Regions from separate parts of the Homo sapiens genome. Here region 1 is linked to region 2. Evidence: promoter capture Hi-C in human tissues and cell types (Jung and others, 2019). All regions are on one chromosome and are shown on one strand. Each heading gives the region's core, a stretch centred on a gene start or on the middle of the fragment in contact. The rest is flanking DNA. Distances are from core to core; before and after follow the strand shown. Region 1 overlaps ZNF257 (zinc finger protein 257). Region 2 holds the start of ZNF714 (zinc finger protein 714).

Region 1 (3,725 bases), core at 562-3,061, 1.0 Mb after region 2:
AATTATATACGACCTCTTCTATAAAATAGTAAGGACACTGAAATATAAGATGCATAAGAGTCTAAGTGAAGAGGTTCTTTGTGGTTAACTTAGTGATGTATGAAGTAGTTGCTCATGTTATGAGAGAAAAACATTTTTAATTTTAGTTAAATGTAAGTTAAAATTAAAATAGTACCATATAATGTTAGTGATTGTACTTTTATTTAATAAAATGCAGTACATTTTAAAATTTTTAGATTATTTGTGGACTTAATTTATAATTAAATATTTTCTTTTACCACGTTAAGACTATTGTACGTTCAGGCCGGGCACAGTAGCTCACGCCTGTAATCCCAACACTTTGGGAGGCTGAGGCGGGCGGATCAATTGAGGCCAGGAGTTTGAAACCAGCCTGGCCAACATGGTGAAACCCTGTCTCTACTGAAAATACAAAAAATTAGCCAGGCATGGTGGTGGGTGCCTGAAATCCCAGCTATTTGGGAGATTGAGGCAAGAGAATCACGTGTACCCAGGAGGCAGAGGTTGCAGTGAGCCAAGATCACGACATTGCACTCCAGCCTAGGCAACAAGAGCAAGACTTCGTCTCAAAAAAAAAAAAAAAAAAAAGACTTGTGCATTCAGTGGAGTATTATTATTCCACTAACTTTAACATACCCCACCTTACTCAAGGGTGTAGGTAAAATATGGTAACAATATGCTATTTGGCAACATAGTGGAATAACACCTCTAGTAATCTCTTCTGCCAATGGCTTCAAATTGCAAATAAGTTAAAAAATATTTTTCCCATAGGTTACATTTTTATCCTTTTTTTCTTAAATTTATTCTTTTTAATTTTGTGGTTACACAGTATGTGTATATATTTATGCCATATATGGCATATTTTGGTACAGGCATATAATATATAATAGTTACATCAGGATAAATGAGGCATCCATCACCTCTAGCATTTATCCTTTTTATTACAAACAATTTGATTAGTAAAATAAAAATATTGTTATTTTAAAATATTAAAAGTACTTTATTTTAAAATTTGCAATTGTTCTGACTACAGGGTCATTTTTATGGTCATAATAAAATTTATATAGAAGTATAAATAAAATTGATACATTTCTAAGTACTGAATAAATATTTAAAGAATTTGTTACATATTTTTCTTTGAACATGATTTATCTCTGCCTGCAAACACATATAGGCTTTTAGTTTTGATTTACATAGAGTTAAACATATACATATATTACTCTAAAGATAAACCTTAGGTGTAAGAAAATTATGAAGTAAGTGTGTATGAGTATGAGTTTGTACCCATTTTTGGAAGGAGAAAGCAATATTGGAACAAAACAAATTATTTTAATAAGGTGACTTATTAGAAAACTAAAAACCTCGAAAATGTTGAAAGCAAATCTATACTCTGTGCATTGTATTGAATTCATTGCTATAAAATGTTAGGGCTTATAGTTCAGAATCTCCCTATGCACATTCTCTGTTTTTACTTGTCTGGTACTCATGCTAGACCCATAATGTTCTTGTTTTGTATTTTATGAAGTACTCATTATGTGAGCTGGTCAGGGATTATAAGAATGATTTTTATGAAATTTAAGAGTGCACACAAAATAATTTTTAGATGTAATTACAAAATTAGTTATATTTTTATATAAGTTAGTTTTTATATAATAGTTATATTGTTATATTTTAACGTTTGATTTTTGTTTTATTGGAGAAACCTGTATAAGGCTAATTTTCTTTATTGTTTCTTTCACTTTTTATAATTGACATAAGTAAATCTATTGAGTGAGCTAATTTGCTTTGGTAAGTACTAGGGAGACTTCATAAGTCATGAGGATGTTTTTACATATAAATGTAGCAAACAAATATGACAGTTCTTCTGAGTAAAACATGCTTTATAATAAGTCATAAATATTTTTGCTGGAGTTAGTTTGTAACTTCAAGTCAGAGATGGAAAATAGCAATGGTGAAGAAATAACATTGATTCATCATGTGGAGAGGACATTTTCAGGCTGCAAAGCTGACTTGCTGAATTTAAACACAAATTCTGCTGCTTTTATTTTCTACTGATCTTCAGTTTTGTCTTACTTAGTGTATTCCAACTATATATGCATCACAGTCTTTCTTCTTTTACTGTGTTATGACTACAGTTTTCTCATTGTTGTCTTCATGCCATGTCATTTTACATGGTAGTTTGTGGGTTCTCATGAGAAAGTTGGTATTTTTAATGCATTGAAAAATTGGTTTTAACTGAAGAATTTGCTTATCAATAAAACTTTCAGATTAGTCAATTAAGAGAATAGACATACACTGTTAACAAGTGAAAAGATTACATCAGTTAGCTTTTTCTTTGTAAAAAAAAAAAGTTTTATTCTTGCAAAAAGCATGGCAAATATAAAATTTGTAAAAATATTTCAGAAATTAGATTCTAAATAGAGTTAATGGTAAATGAACAATTTTAAATTTAATTTTCTATGATATATTTATAGCACAACTTATGTTTCTATGCAGAATCTTTTTTTTTTTCTTTTTTTGAGACAGAGTTTCACTCTCTCTCCCAGGCTGGAGTGAAGTGGCCCAATGTCGGCTCACTGTGACCTCCATCCCCCAGATTCCAGCGATTCTCCTACCTCAGCCTCCCAAGTAGCTGGAATTACACCACGCCCAGCTAATTTTTGTATTTTTAGTAGATATGGGGTTTCGCCATGTTGGCCAGGTTAGTCTCAAACTCCTGACCTCAGGTGATCCACCCGCCTCGGCCTCCCAAAGTGCTGAGATTATAGGCGTGAGCCACTGTGACTGGCAGAATCTTATATTTTTAAGTGTGAATGTTGAATGTGGCAAAACAGTACAATGACCTGTGGATCTGAAATTTGGAATAATATTTATTTTACATCTTGATAAAACAATTTGGAGAAATTCCACTCTTTTTTTTTTTTTTGAGATGGAGTCTCGTTCCGTCACCCAGGCTGGAGTGCACTGGCATGATATCAACTCACTGCCACCTCCTCCTCCCAGGTTCAAGCGATTCTCCTGCTTCAGCCTCCTGAGTAGTTGGGATTACAGGTGCACACCACCATGCCCGGCTAACTTTTGTATTTTTAGTAGAGACGGGGTTTCACCATGTTGGTCAGGCTGGTCTCAAACTCCGGACCTTGAGATCCGCCTCGGCCTCCCAAAGTACTGGGATTACAGGCATGAGCCACTGCGCTCAGCCCATATTCTTTTATATGACTTTTTTTTAGTAGGTACAGTTTAGTCTACAGATTTTTACTCACCTAACTGTAGCCAACTCCTTGATCATTGGTAAGTGACTGATTAGTAATTCCAAACTATTGACCGGATGCAGTGGCTCATACCTGTAATCTTAGCACTTTGGGAGGCCAAGGCAGGTGGATTGCCTGAGGCCAGGAGTTCGAGACTAGCCTGGCCAACATGGTGAAACCCTGTCTCTACTGAAAATACAAAAATTAGCTGGGCATGGTGGCGAGCGCCTGTAATCCCAGCTACTCGGGAGGCTGAGGCAGGAGAATCACTTGCACCTGGGAGGTGGAGGTTGCAGTGAGCCAAGATCGCGCCACTGCACTCCAGCCTGGGCAACAAGACTGAAACTCCATCTCAAAAAAAAAATAAGTAAATACAATTTTTTAAAAATAAAAAAAGTAATTCCAGACTATTTTAGTCACTGTAAAAACTTAATATTCTTTAATTATTAAATAGGA
Region 2 (3,198 bases), core at 440-2,939:
TATTTTTGGTAGAGACAGGGTTTCACCTTGTTAGCCAGGATGGTCTCGGACTCCTGACCTCTTGATCCACCCACCTCGGACTCCCAAAGTGCTGGGATTGCAGGCGTGAGCCACCGTGCCTGGGCGATTCTATTTTATTCGTTGATCTTTTGTGGTGCTTTTACAATTTTACATCTACATATTATAAATCCAGTAACAAAGAGTCATAATTGTTGCTTTTAATAGTGATAGGTTGCTTTAAAACTGAAGGGTACAATTTAGTCAGATACTTTGGTGCTATGCAAATACAATGCTTATTTTTTAAGTGTTATTTACAATTTTTACACTCCTCAGTTAACCTTGGATACAATAATAACTGGTGGTTTTGTGATGGTTTCTTTAGCATTTTATCTATGTTGATTAGTATTTGGAATTCTGTAAAAAAAAATTTCCCTATCCTTTTTTCTTTTTTATTTATTTAAAGTTTTTTGTGTATCAGTGTAAATGCATGGGTATTTATTTATTTGACTTGATTTATTTTATAGGTCAGTGCTCTAATTATTCATTTGGATGCTAACATTGTTCCAGGATGGACCATTGGGAGTTCTTTCAGGCTGGCTCCCTTTGACATGTTCCCATCATTTTTTAAAATTAAAAAAAAAGAAAGAAAAAACATTTTGAGGCTGGGTGCGGTGGCTCACGCCTGTAATCCCAACACTTTGGGAGGCCAAAGCGGGCAGATCACCTGAGGTCAGGAGTTCAGGACCAGCCTGGCCAACATGGTGAAACCCCGTGTCTACTAAAAATACAAAAAATTAGCCGAGCATGGTGGCGCGCGCCTGTGATCTCATCCAGCAGTGCTTTACTTGTAATTATTTTATTCCTGCTGCCGTCTCCTCTTTCTTTGGCCACTATCTGTTCCACCCCCGGAACGGAAGAGAGATGTTGGTAGGGAGAGGCTCTTCCTTCACCTCTGGCAGAAAAGGTTTGCTTGGGCCCTTCACACCGCTGACATCAGAGCTGCACTTCAATGTGGCAGTTATTGGCCATGTGTGGCGCCTGGTCTGAAGTGCGATGCTAGAAAGGTAAAATACAGAGTTAGTTTCAAAGATTTAGTTCCAAATATTTATATACTTTATTAATAATTACATATTTCTCACACATTAAAATGAAAATTTTTTTGATATATTGGGTTAATTAAATTGTTACAATCAATTCAACCTGTTCTTGTTTCTTTTTCAAGTTTGGCTACTAGAAAACTTAAAATTCACATATGGCTCACATTTTATTTCAGAGGATTACCTCCTTTCTAAAATCTCAGCCTGCCTGCTCAAAGACCAGAAAGAAGCCAGGAAGGTCATAAAATCTGAAATTTTAAAATAATTGTTATTATAAAATTATATTTTTTCCTTTGTGAAGAGCCATATATTATTTATAAATGCATATGACTTTACACACAAGTTTAAAGGCAAATTCCCTCTGGGGTGGGCCTGGCTCAGCTCTGGGAGGAAGCCCTGCCTGAGAAGGCTGCAGCCTAGGCTGTCACCCTTTCTTCACTCAGCCCAGCAACTGATCACATCTTCTGTCACTCAGGGCACGAGAAGGTGGGGTTTTAAAAGTTATCCAATCAGCGACGCTGGGTTGGGAACCGTCCAATCAGGCCTGCAGCTGGAGCGGACAGGACGGCTTCGGGGATGTGGCGGGGCCTTTGTCTCTCGCTGCAGCTGGAGCTGCAGGTCTCGCCTTCACTGCCCTGTGTCCTCTGCTCGCAGAGGCCCAGCCTCTGTGGCCCTGTGACCTGCAGGTATTGAGAGATCCACAGCTAAGACGCCAGGTACCCCGGAAGCCTAGAAATGGTGAGAGTGCCGGGTCCGACATCCCGAGAGAGGGGAAGGGGCGGGTTGTAAGCGGTGGGAAGTGGCTGTGGTGGGACTTAGGCCTCCCCGCAGTCAACTCTACAATCTGCGCCCGGAGTTCTCCTTGCTCAGCTCGGCCTCAGTCCCCTTCAGCCATAAGATGGCGGCTGCGCTGACTGCGGGATCCCGGGCGTCCTGTCTTTTCCCTGCGCAGTGACTGGGCCCTGACCTGGAGTCCTCTCAGGGCAGCTCTGGACCCTCAGCGGCGCGTCTCTCCCGGATTGTGCAGGGACCACTGGAGGGTCCCAGGGGTAGAATCCTGACTCGGGGTGCGGGTTTATGAATGGGTCCGTGGGGTTCCAGTTCCTCTTCTGTTGAAAATGTATGGGAGTCACCGTTAAAACACTAAAGCATTTAATCAAAGCGTGATTCAAAAATTGTGGAGCACCCAGCTGTGGTTTGTAATTTATGGTTTATGGGCGGGGCTTGAAGTAAAGACTTTTATAAACAGCATGATGAAGAAAACCAAATTCAGTAATTGGTTAGGTTCAGATACATAGTTTCTTAATTTGTAAAATAAAGGTGAAAATTTCCTGGTTATGTAATTAGATGTTAATTGGCAGTTTATAGTTGGTTAAGGATGAATTTTGTTTCTCTCAATGTAGTAATTTACTAAAAATGCACCTCAGTTAGATTTTTTTTTTTTAAGATGGAGTTTCGCTCTTGTTGCCCAGGCTGGAGTGCAATGGGGCGATCTTGTCTCACCGTAACCTCTGCCTCCCGGGTTCAAGCGATCCAATGCTTCAGCCTCCCAGGTAGCTGGGATTACAGGCATGCGCCACCACGCCCGTCTAATTTTGTGGTTTTAGTAGAGACGGGTTTCTGCATGTTGGTCAGGCTGGTCTCGAACTCCCGACCTCAGGTGATCTGCCCTCCACGGCCTCCCCAAAGTGCTGGGATTACAGGCGTGAGCCACCGCGCCCAGCCAGATTTTTTTAAAAGTAGGAATCCAGGGACTAGAGACACCTCAGTCTAATTTCCCGCCGCTTAATTATTTTCACACTCCATGGGGAACTGATTTTCTGGTGCATTTTTCAACTGTGTCCCAAGCACTGTCTTAAATCTAACCTCCCGTCCCCCATATCTCCAGCCTCACTCTGGCTTGCAGTAAGATATTAAATTTCCAGTTCCTCCTGGCATTCCCTAATGCCAGCTTTTCCTCCCTAATTCACGTTATCACCTGTTTGTCTTTTAGTGTACTTTTGTATACCATATTTTAATTAATTATTTTTTGACAAAGCTTTAAATGACGCTTTTTAAAAGGTTTGTTACCTGTTTGTAACTTTCCCATGAGAAGAAAGCA

What was found. Contacts are between HindIII fragments. The study calls those that stand out against the background at their distance.
Region 1: a fragment that was not itself captured here is called in contact with the fragment with the promoter of ZNF714 in region 2 in 1 of the 25 tissues and cell types used here (hippocampus).

What each region holds. Positions count from the first base shown.
Region 1 is chr19:22,090,875-22,094,599 of GRCh38, forward strand. It overlaps ZNF257 (zinc finger protein 257), which reads left to right. Exons shown (of 4, transcript NM_033468.4): 4 at 1-606. Among named protein-coding and RNA genes, the nearest start is that of ZNF257, 40 kb to the left of the region's middle. The HindIII fragment of the contact is 8,109 bases long and covers 1-3,725 here.
Region 2 is chr19:21,080,514-21,083,711 of GRCh38, forward strand. ZNF714 (zinc finger protein 714) reads left to right here and starts at 1,690. Exons shown (of 5, transcript NM_182515.4): 1 at 1,690-1,835. RefSeq lists an enhancer at 2,029-2,178. The HindIII fragment of the contact is 9,806 bases long and covers 1-3,198 here.